Regions from separate parts of the Homo sapiens genome. Here region 2 is linked to region 1. Evidence: promoter capture Hi-C in 16 types of primary human blood cells and fetal thymus (Javierre and others, 2016). All regions are on one chromosome and are shown on one strand. The core of a region is centred on a gene start or on the middle of the fragment in contact, and the rest is flanking DNA. Distances in the headings are between cores, read along the strand shown.

Evidence for each region. The method cuts DNA at HindIII sites, captures the fragments that hold promoters and counts their contacts. A CHiCAGO score of 5 or more calls a contact.
Region 2: a contact is called between a fragment that was not itself captured here and the fragment with the promoter of UTP14A in region 1, in 13 of 17 cell types (neutrophils, naive CD8 T cells, non-activated CD4 T cells and 10 more). The highest score is 11.2, in neutrophils.

The regions. Positions count from the first base shown.
Region 1 is chrX:129,903,188-129,908,973 of GRCh38, reverse strand. It overlaps UTP14A (UTP14A small subunit processome component), which reads right to left and starts at 2,810. Exons shown (of 15, transcript NM_006649.4): 1 at 2,738-2,810; 2 at 1,532-1,607; 3 at 844-914; 4 at 240-304. The coding sequence starts at 2,763. It overlaps LOC105373335 (a long non-coding RNA gene), which reads left to right. Exons shown (of 3, transcript NR_188631.1): 3 at 421-1,710. The HindIII fragment of the contact is 20,573 bases long and covers 2,378-5,786 here.
Region 2 is chrX:130,033,591-130,039,376 of GRCh38, reverse strand. It overlaps BCORL1 (BCL6 corepressor like 1), which reads right to left. Exons shown (of 14, transcript NM_001379451.1): 9 at 4,701-4,922; 10 at 1,844-2,010; 11 at 95-240. Among named protein-coding and RNA genes, the nearest start is that of BCORL1, 54 kb to the right of the region's middle. The HindIII fragment of the contact is 5,010 bases long and covers 1-4,645 here.

The DNA.
Region 1 (5,786 bases), core at 1,561-4,060:
ATCCTATAAGTATCTCATCAAACTCTGTAGGATACCTTGACCACAGCCTTCTAGGCTTTCTTTGAGAGATGGAAGAAACTGAAGGGCATCTGACTACACTTCTTCACCCACTCTCCCAGGTATTTATGGTATGAGTCATTAACCACATCAAAAACAGTTCCTAGGGGGGGTGAGGTGAACACAATGCCCTTGGAACTCCACAGGTTTCATGCATGGGTATCTTCCTTTGTTCAACTTACCTTCAGAACTGACATTGAACTCTGACACCTTCAGACTAGCCTCAGACCTCTCAGCCAATTTCCGCCTGAAATTAGGCAAAACGATATAATAGGAATGAATAAATTTTATGGGGGCTTGGGGTTGGGAGAGACAAACACTTCTCTCTTCAAACAGGGCTTTGGTTTCTTGTATTTCTTCTAGGGTCATGTTTTGTCATGATGCAGCAAGGAGATCTGTTCCTAACTTGGACTTGGTTGTCTAACCCTCATCTCTTCTCTTTATTACAAGGTAAGCATAGTGGAAAACATATTGGACTTAGATTCAAACACACCTGAACCTGTAACTTATGAGCCAGGTGACCTTGGGGGTAAGTAAATTTATTTCTCTAATGGGGTTAAATAATGCCTACTCAATGCTTTAAAAGATTTTCAGTGTGGAATAAGACTGCAAATGCTTACAATAATAGCACTAAGACTAATAACAGCTAACAGTTAATTATATAATGCTTACTATATGCTAGGCACTGGTATTAAGGTCTTTACATGAAGCACTCAATAAATATTAGCTGCAGAGAAATCTCACGGAATTGACTATATAACCTGCCCTAACTGACGGGAACGTTACCTATTCTTTCCATCAAGGGAACTGATTGCTTCCAGAAGCTTTTGATGCTTTCTCTCTCCATCATTGTCCCCCTAAGACACAGAAAAGGAAAAACAATCAGGATGAGGGGGAGGGAAAAGACAACATGGAAATTGAGTCTCATGTAAAATCTCTTGTTATTTATTTATTTATTTTTGAGACGGCGTCTCGCTCTGTTGCCCAGGATGGAGTGCAGTGGTGTTATCTTGGCTCACTGCAAGCTCCGCCTCCCAGGTTCATGCCATTCTCCTGCCTCAGCCTCCCAAGTAGCTGGGACTACAGGCGCCTGCCACCACGCCTGGCTAATTTTTTGTATTTTTAGTAGAGACGGGGTTTCACTGTGTTAGCCAGGATGGTCTCAATCTCCTGACCTTGTGATCTGCCCGCCTTGGCCTCCCAAAGTGCTGGGATTACAGGCATGAGCCATCACCCGGGCCTGTTTTGGTTGGTCTTATAAATTATACTTATGCAACTTGAGGGTAGTGATTGTAACTTAGTTTCCAAATCCTCATAGCACTTAATATGATACAGTATCTTATATATGAAACACTAACCATTTGCAATTTATTTGAGAGACCTGAACAAATACATAGAACATTGTCACACCCTTCCATTCCAGGAATGTGCTCTCTACCCTAATTTTGAAGGCAGTTTAGCAATTGTCACCCACCTCATCTTCACTCTCACTCAAGAGGTAGTCTTTTGGCAAATCCGCTAGTTCTTCCTGTTGGCTCAAAGCCAGAAGGCTGTTAAAAGAGGCAACAGAGAAATGTGAATGCAATATACCCATGTAACAAACCTGCATATGTATCCCTTAATTATAATAAAAGTCGAAATTAAAAAAAGAAATATTATTATTTGAAGCAATGTCTAATCTATTAAAACAATCTCGAAAACATTGTAATTTCAGCACAGAATAGCCCTATCCCTCAGAAGATATATAAAGCAGCGTGAATGCCTTTGGAAACTTGTCAAGATGTGAAATTTAGACTGAAGTCAGGCATCACCTCCAAGAGTGATGCCTGACTTCAAAACTGCATGTAAAAGAGCTATCACTTTTCAGGGATTGGCACAACATTTCCTATGACCTATGGGAAGCTGTAAAAATGTCAGACCCTAGAATAATATGGCCAAAGACGCTGTTGCTAGCTAGCCCTGGAGGCAAGGCAGTTTCACGATTAATATTTCTAAGCATCCTCCATATATTTGACTCATTGATAGGCAGCCTAATCAAAAGTGTTATCTTGATCCTTGTTCCCAGGAATGGAGAAACAGGTCGAAAGCAGCTGGGTAAGCCACTTTCCCTGGGGCTTGCTTAGTAAAGTAGGTGCTTAACTAAGGAGATTGGTACCCACAAACAAATTATAAAATGTACCATTACCTAACAGCATATATTATTAGTATTTGCAAAGCCAACATTACTAAACGGACTACATTTAGTTCCGGGGGCGGGGTGGGGGGGGCACAAAACATCACAGGAGCCAAAACGTGGTGGATGACTCCAATCAGCAAAGCTTTCCAAGATTCGGGGAGTTTATAACGCCTGCACTGCCTGCGCAGAGGATTAAATCGGGCCGCGACAGAGGCAGAAAAAGGGGCCACGTGACGAAAAATGTGAAACACAGTAAATGAGCTGGGGAGGCAGAAACAGCATCAGGACCAACAGGGATGCGGCTATACAGCTGAGGAGCGGAGTAAGCGAATGAAATTAAATTAAAAGGGCTTTAAAGGCTGGATCGCGGAAAATAGGAACGAATGGCCAGCTCTTCAGGGGAACCACTGCCATCTGTTAAAGGGGGGGCTCCCATTTCCCAAAAGCTGGGGAACCCGGCCCCCAACGAGACCCAGAATCCCCCCTCCCCTCGTTGCCCTTCACCTCTCTGCAAGCCGGTTCGCAGTCATTTCAGCAGCCAGCTTCTCTCACATGGACCAAGAACGGAAGCCGAAGGAAAGCAATTTCCGTGCGGGCCGCAAAGCAATTTCTGTTTCCGTCAATCGCTCGCGACGTACACGTCACTTCCGTTCCGTACGAGGCGTGAGAGAAGCAGGAGCCGTGTAGGGAGGGGCCTGCAGAAAACTGGGAGGCCTGAGATGAAACGGCTGTCAGCGGGTGGGGCATTCCTTTCTCCACCCACCCCGTATTTCTCTGGCGCGCGGGTGTCTGTCCTCCTGGCCCCTGGTTTCCACGTGGCCCAAGGTGGGTTAGCTTAGGGCGACGGTGCTGCGCTCTCAGGGGCTGAGCCCGCGCCTTCATTCGTCACTGCAGAATCCAGAAGGAAAGACTACAGCGCCCGTCCTTGTGCGACGGCGTCCTGCAAGCCGACCACAAGCCAGCTCGGGGGTTTATTGAATGCCTATTAAGTGGCCAGATTGTGCCGGGCCCCGGAGATCCGATGGTGAACATAACAAGTTTCCTTCCATTTAAGGAAAAATCGCCTTTGATCCCTTGTAATTGCAGCTTTGTTCTTCATTTCCTGAGTCAAAAGATTTTTTTTATCCAAGAAGGGGCCATCAGTAACTACGCTTCCTCACCTCCCATCAACTTAAAAAAATTTTTTTAAACAACTTTTTTTCTCCCATCAACTTTTAAGAATTTTATTTATTTATTTTTGAGACAGAGCCTTGCTGTGTCGTTCAGGCTGGAGTGCAATGGCGTGATCTCAGCTCACTGCAACCTCCACCTCCCGGGTTCAAGCGATTCTCCTGCCTCAGCCTCCCGAGTCGCTAGGATTACAGGCACCCGCCACCATGCTCGGCTAATATTTGCATTTTTAGTAGAGACGGGGTTTTGCCACGTTGGCCAGGCTGGTCTAGAATTCCTGGCCTCAAGTGATCTGCCCGCCTCGGCCTCCCAAAGTGCTGAGATTACAGGTGTGAGCCACCGGGCCCGGCCTAATATATATATATATTAATTAATGATTGTAGAAAAATAATAGACAAGAACATTCTTTTCATTTTTTTTTTTTGAGACGGAGTCTCACTCCGTCGCCCACGCTGGAATGCAGTGGTGCGATCTCAGCTCACTGCAAGCTCCGCCTCCCGGGTTCACACCATTCACCTGCCTCAGCTTCCTGAGTAGCTGGGACTACAGGCGCCTGCCACCACACCCGGCTAATTTTTTTTTTTTTTTTAAGTAGAGACGGGGTTTCACCGTGTTAGCCAGGATGGTCTCGATCTCGTGACCTCATGATCCACCCGTCTCGGCCTCCCAAAGTGCTAGGATTACAGGCGTGAGCCACGGCGCCCGGCCCGTTCTTTTCATTCTTGTAATCCATTCCCATTTTGCTTTTGCCCCATTATTCCACAGAAATTGCTCTGGACAAGATCAGCGACACCCAAAGTTGCTAAATAAAACGGATACCTCTCAGTCTTTGGCTTCCCAGAACTTTGTGTGGCATTTAGTAACTGTTGATTTCTTTTCTTTTCTTTTCTTTTCTTTTCTTTTCTTTTTTTTGAGACGGAGTTTCGCTCTTGTTGCCAAGGCTGGAGTGCAGTGGCGCGATCTTGGCTCACTGTAACCTCCGCCTCCTGGGTTCAAGTGATTCTCCTGCCTCAGCCTCCCGTGTAGCTGGGATTACAGGCATGCGCCACCACGCCTGGCTAATTTTTGTTTTTTTTTTTTTTTTGAGACGGAGTCTCGCTCTGTCACCCAGGCTGGAGTGCAGTGGCACAATCTCAGCTCACTGCAACCTCTGCCTCCCTGTTTCAAGTGATTCTCCTGCCTCAGCCTCCCGAGTAGCTGGACTACAGGCACATGCCACCATGCCCGGCTAATTTTTTGTATTTTTAGTAGAGATGGGGTTTCACCGTGTTAGCCAGGATGGTCTCGATCTCCTGACCTCGTGATCCGCCCTCCTCGGCCTCCCAAAGTGCTGGGATTACAGGCGTGAGCCACCGCGCCCAGCCTAATTTTTGTATTTTTAGCAGAGATGGAGTTTCGCCATGTTGGCCAGGCTGGTCTCGAACTCCTGGCCTCAGGTGATCCTCCCACCATGGCCTCCCAAAGTGCTGGGATTATGGGCGTGAGCCACCGCACCCAGCCGATTTGTTTTCTTATTCATGAAATATTTTTGGCCATCTAGTATGTGCCAAGCCTCTAGGCATTGGGAATACATTGGTGAACAAAGCAGATATGTCCCATTGCTTCCTAGAGCTTACTTTCTAGTGGGATTAAAGACAATTTTGTCATTGTTGAAACTCCATCCTGAGATTTCATGACACCATTCTCTCCTGGTATCAGCCCTATGACCATCTTCCTCAGTCTTCTCTGCTGGATGCTTTTAATATACTTTTAATATGCTTACTCCCTAAATGATGATGTTTCCGAGAATTCTGCTCTAAGCCCTCTTTATTTATTACAGATACTCTTCCTAAGTGAAATTGCCTTTAACAGCTGTATGAGAACAAAATTTATATCTCTAGCCCTAATCTCTTTCTTGAGCTCCAGACTGGTATATCTGATTGCCTCCTGGCTATTCTTTTTGCCCCACAAGCACATCAAACATAAAATGACCAATAATTTCTATCTTTTCCACCAGAGTTCCTTTCCTGAATTTCCCATTTGTATGATTGGCCCATCAACTACCCAGTTAGTAAAATCAGAAGTCTGAGAGTCATCTTAGATTCCCCTCCCCCTTATGCTCCACAGCTGTTTGCCCACATTATCAGTTTTACTTCCCTGAGTCTCTTTCAAATATCTCCTTACCTTTCTCCATCATGTTTGCCATTGTATTAGTTCAGACCTTTGCAATTTGAAGCCTGTGGTATTGCAGTAATCTTATAGAAAGGGGGAGCATTATAGCATTTTCATACTCATGAAATATGAAGAATGAACGAATAAATACATTTCATGATGAAGAACCTGAGTTTTAAAGCTGGACTCTGGGATTGAATCTTAGCTCTGTCACTTACTAGTTTTATAATTT
Region 2 (5,786 bases), core at 891-3,390, 130 kb before region 1:
TCAAGGTGGAAGGAGATGAAGAGGATGTCCTCACAAGTTCAGGAATCAGAGGCTGGCCCCAAGGACAACAGTGTCAAGTCTGGACCATGCTTACCACTGAGAAAGCGCTTCATGGTGTCGCTGCTGGCCAGCTTCATGGCTGTCTGACCCGAGTAGGTAGCCAGTGTGGGATCGGCCCCATAGGACAGCAGGAGCCAGATGGTCTCCAGGTTGTCATTGACCACCGCATCATGAACTGGCCTGTGGAGGTGATACAGGGTGAGGATAACAGGGCCCAAGTGGGAACTGGGGTGTCTACACTTAAGGCTACTGCATCAGGGGAAAAAACTGAGCTGACCCCCAGGTAACCTTGGTGTAATATGGTTTAAGACTTAGGACAAGGGAACCACCTGTAGCCTTGCAACTCTCCACTACCATCTCCCCAACTCCTCCTCTCTCTGTACCCCCTTTTCCTCCCTCCCATTACTCTCTCTCTCTTACGTTCCCCTGACATCTTGGGACAGTTCCCATGGCACAATGTAGCTCTATTGGTAGTTGTGGAGTTCACTAGAGGATGGGTCCCTGACCTACAATAAAGTTAAGGCAGCTGCAGGGAAGCCGGGCGCGGTGGCTCACGCCTGTAATCCCAGCACTTTGGGAGGCCGAAGCAGGTGGATCACTTGAGGCCAAGAGTTTGAGACCAGCCTGGCCAACATGGTGAAGCCCCATCTCTACTAAAAATCCAAAAATTAGCTGGGCGTCATGGCGGGCACCCATAGTCCCAGCTACTCAGAAGGCTGAGGCAGGAGAATTGCTTGAAACCGGGAGGCAGAGGTTGCAGCGAGCCAAGATTGTGCCACTGCATACCAGCCTGGGCGACAGAGTGAGACTCCATCTCAAAAAAAAAAAAAAGGTGGGGGCAACTGTAGAGGGATACTTCAGTTCAGGGAACTGAAGGCCCTGGGTGACTCCCTGAGAGCAGAGATGAGCAGAAGGGCTCCACACGCCAGGCAGAACCCAAGCGGAGCCCCCTCCTGGATCTGCAGCTCCTGTCTCTAATTTGCCCAGGAAGTAGGCTCTCTGGTAGAACAGAGGAGAATGGGTACAATTTCTCTAAGACACAGCAGGTGTATTTTTCTTACAGTGTCTAGAGATCAAATTTTAAAAATCAAATCTGGATATTACCCTCAGGTCAACCTCTCAGTTTCTATTCTGTCTGAGACACGTCCCCCACCAGGATGAGTTGAGGGAAGACCGAGTGGTCTTCCTGGTGACAGCTACACATGATGGGATGATCCCTAGACAACCACAGCCTCCCCTTAGTAACTGATGCGGCCTGGCCATCTGGGAACTAACTCATTGGCTCCTGCCCTAAACTGGTTCCCTCTTGAGCCTATAGAAGTCTTTCCAAAACTCCTCCTGTCAAGGCCTCTCTGCAACTCGCAGTCTGGTGTGCTACGAAGGTTCAGGTTGAGGTAAGGTCTTTATTTTTTTATTTTTTATGTTTTTTTGAGACGGAGTCTCCATCACCCAGGCTGGAGTGCAATGGCATGGTCGCGGCTCACTGCAACCTCCACCTCCTGGGTTCAAGCAATTCTCCTGCCTCAGCCTCCTTAGTAGCTGGGACTACAGGCACATGCCACCACACCCGGCTAATTTTTGTATTTTTAGTAAAGATGGGGTTTCACTATGTTGGCCAGGCTGGTCTCGAACTCCTGACCTCATGATCCGCCCGCCTTGGCCTCCCAAAGTGCTGGGATTACAGGCGTGAGCCACCATGCCTGCCAGCGGCAGGCAAGGTCTTTTGAGTGAGAGGCTGAGCTGGGAGTGAGGGCGGGACTGGGGGGAGATGCAGCCCTCTTGCCTCGTGCCGTCCTGCGCACTGCAGTTCACGTTGGCCCCGTGCTCCAGCAGGATGTTCAGGATGTCGGTCCAGCCCCGGGAACAAGCCTCATGCAGGGCTGTGTAGCCAGCATTGTCACGGTGATTCACATCTTCACTGTCTTTCTGGAGGCAGTAGAGAACAACATCCTGTGGGGACAGGGACAACTCCATGAGCAAAGAGAGGTCTAATTCTTGAACTTATATAACCCTGAGACTCAAAGCTCCCCAAATATCTGAGGAGTCTCAGAGCCTGCCCTTTATAGCAGGGACACACTTCAAAATCTTTCATTAACAACATCAGTCCTGAGCCACAATTGCCAGGACCCCAGCTCTGGGCCGTTTCCTTGGCAGTGGAGAGACTTTTTTTTTTGAGACAGTCTCACTCTGTTGCCCAGGCTGGAGTGCAGTGGCGCAATCTCAGCTCACTGCAGCCTCTGCCTCCCAGGTTCAAGCGATTCTCCTGCCTTAGCCTCCCAAGTAGCTGGAGCTACAGGCGCACGCCACCACGCCTGGCTAATTTTCGTATTTTTAATAGAGATGAGATTTCACTATGTTGGCCAGGCTGGTCTCCAGCTCCTGAACTCAGGTGATCTGCCCACCTTGGCTTCCCAAAGTGTTAGGGTTACAGGCGTGAGCCACCGCACCTGGCCTGGAGAGACTTTTTTTATGGCCAAGGACACTCATCTGGGTGGTGGTATTTGAGGTGAGGTCCTCAGAGAGGCTGACCTGCCCGCCCAGAGCTCAAGCACTCAGACCTCGACTCCCTGAGCTTGGCAAGCCAGCCCCAGACCAGAGAAATGAGATGTGGTGGAGAGCACAGCCTCTGGTGGCAATTCAAGAATAAGGAAGACAATTGTTTTAAGGACTATCCCTGGATGCACGTCTCGGCAGGACCAATGTTCAAGCCAGGACAGTCAGTTCTAGCCCTCCCCTCAAATCAGGATAATCCAATAGGCTGGGTGCAGTGGCTCACGCCTGTAATCCCAGCACTTTGGGAGGCTGAGGCGGGCAGATCACCTGAGGTCAGGAGTTTGAGACCAGCCTAGCCAACATGGCAAAACCCCCTCTCTACTAAAAATACAAAAATTAGCCCAGTGTGATGGCAGGTGCCTGTAATCCCAGCCACTCAGGAGGCTGAGGCAGGAGAATCCCTTGAACCCAGGAGGTGGAGGCTGCAGTGAGCCGAGATTGCACCGTTGCACTCCAGCCTAGGTGACAGAGCAAGACTCCATCTCCAAAAAAAAAAAAAAAGGATAATCCAATACTGCCATTCATCCACACTTTAATGACTGCCTTCCTTGGATTGAGATGATGCTAGGACTACAGGTGGGACACCAGGGACTTGAAGCACCCTAGCTAGCATGGGCTGAAGCTGGGTGAATGAGGTGAGGAGGGGAGAGGCTGGCAGCATTAATGGCTGCCTGGCTTTCCAAACAATGGATCCCATAGCTGCACCATTGCCAGTCCTCTCTGGGGCACTGGGGAGATGGGCCACTCCACCTTTCTGTCTGACAGCTCACAGGCTAGCTGGCTAGAGCGGCTGTGTGTGCAGCCTGTGTCAGGGGTGCTGCTGGCTGTATATAGAAACTGTCAAGCTCCTTTACCCGGGAGAAAGCCCGAGGCTTCCCACCCTCCTCACCAGTGCAGATGTCTGCCTCTTCCCCCAGGCCCAAAAGGGCTCCTTCCACCCTCCCTGACAGGCTGCCTTAGTGCTCCAGCCCTGTCCCATTGGCCCCTCCAATGGTTTCCTGTTGGCTGGTTTTGCCCAGGGTACAAGACAATTAAATTAACCTTGACGGCAGGGATTGGTCTTGATTTTTGTTTTAGGTCTCCCTCGGCAGCTATCCAGGCACGCACACTAGGTGCTCATGAAAGATGGGCTGCTTGCCAGTGAGACACTGTCACGTCAGCTCCCCAGAGCTGACCAGTCTGGCTGGGAGTGTGGCTGGTGTGAAACAACTCAGGTATAGGGATGGAAAGCCTTAAAACCAAAGGCACACTCTGTAACTAACCCAGCAACTCCACTGCTAGGAGCATACCCTGAGGAAATAATCCATATGGTAGGCAAAGATACACACTCAATAAAAAGTGGGGAACAATGGAAACGTCCAAGGTGTAACTGAATTATGGTGAATGAGTCAGTCTTCCACCTACCCTGGCACTTGGGAATCAAAAGACCTTGGTTTGAATTCAGACTCATATGCGTAGTAGTTGAGTGATCTTAGACATATCAGTAACACTGCAAAGCCTCGATTTTCTCACCTATAAAATGGGGATAATAAATCTACTCCATCGGCTTACTGTGAGATTAAATGATACAAAGTAATCAGGCTCTTCACATGACAAAAGAAGTGCTCAATAAATGCCAGCTTCCTTTCTTGCCTTCTTTCTAATCTATAGGGTAGTAGTATAAGGTGGGGTTAGCTCAGCCTCGCCCCTCAAACATGATCCTGGCCCCTCTGCGAGAGGCGAAAATGAGGGGAAGCTGGAGGAGGAGATGAAGAGTGAGCAATAAATCACCCCTTGTTCCTTTCTGAGTTGGGAAACCACCATACAGAGAAATTTAAGACAACGTGGATATCCAAAAATTGCGTTCCTGGTCTAGGAATATACTGCATGATACCATTTCAATTGCATTCATCCCAAATTGACATTCAAGCAAGTTTGCATTCTCACACGCTGACATCCAAGTGATGAGGGGCAAGGCAGCCCCAGGGCAATCTGGGGTGTAGAGGGAGGCCAGCCTGGGTTCAAGCACCAGAAGAGCCCATGGAGAAAAGCTTCTTCATAGATGCTCAGACCAACGGCGCCCTGTGGTCAGTCGAAAACTCCCTTACCTTATAGCCAAGACGCGCCGCCCTCTGCAGGAGGGTCTCACCAGCATTTTTGTTCACTATGAGCCGACGTGCCTCTGGGGGGATCTGCCGGGCTGTAGGTGACTCTGAGGCCTCCTCTGAGCTGGCACTTCGGGACTTAGAGGGTGTACATGGTTCTGTGGGTTTCACTGGGGTGGGAGATTTGGGAGATCGTGTCTTCTGCTGGCTCCAACGACCTTTGCCCTGGAAAGCAGAGATGCAGTCCTAGGTCAGGTCAGGCCAGGCAGCTTATCCATCCACCAGGGTCATCACTGCCCTCAGTGGCCAAGGCCATCTCACCTTATCTGTGTCCATGCTGTACTTTGCTTACACTACCCTAAATGGCCGAGACTACTGTCAGGTTTGAGGCCAGACGCTGGGCCAGGCGCTAACCATGTGAAGTCTCTCCAGGATCAACACAGGTTCCCATGAGTTTGTAGCCGGTGGGGAGATATGAAGAGGTTCAAATGCTCAACCCCATAAACCAAGGAATGCCACAGGGATTGTAAATCAGAGATTGAGGGGATATCCTAGCTTCTCTCAAGACTCTGCATGCCTTCTTTACCTGCCTCAATCACCATTTATTGAGGTTTTTATAAGTCCTATCTGTAAATAGGCAGAAGCAAACTCTGAGAGTAAAGAGAAATGAGACAGCTATCTTTTTTTTTTCTTTTTTTGAGACCGAGTCTCACTTTGTCACTGAGGCTGGAGTGCAGTGGTGTGATCTCTGCTCACTGCAACCTCTGCCTCCCAGGTTCAAGGGATTCTCCTCCCTCAGCCTCCTGAGTAGCTGGGATTACAGGTATGCGCCACCATGCCCAGCTAATTTTTGCATTTTTAGTAGAGAGGGGTTTCGCCACATTGGCCAGTCTGGTCTCGAACTCCTGATCTCAAGTGATCCGCCTGCCTCGGCCTCCCAAAGTGCTGGGATTACAGGCATGAGCCACCATGCCCGGCCGGCTATCTTTGACTAGTCACAGCTGCTAAAGCTTCACACTTGTAGCAAAAACCTTCCTTCCACATCCAGTCCTCACAGAATGTTCCCATCTTCCATCACACTGTGTCCCC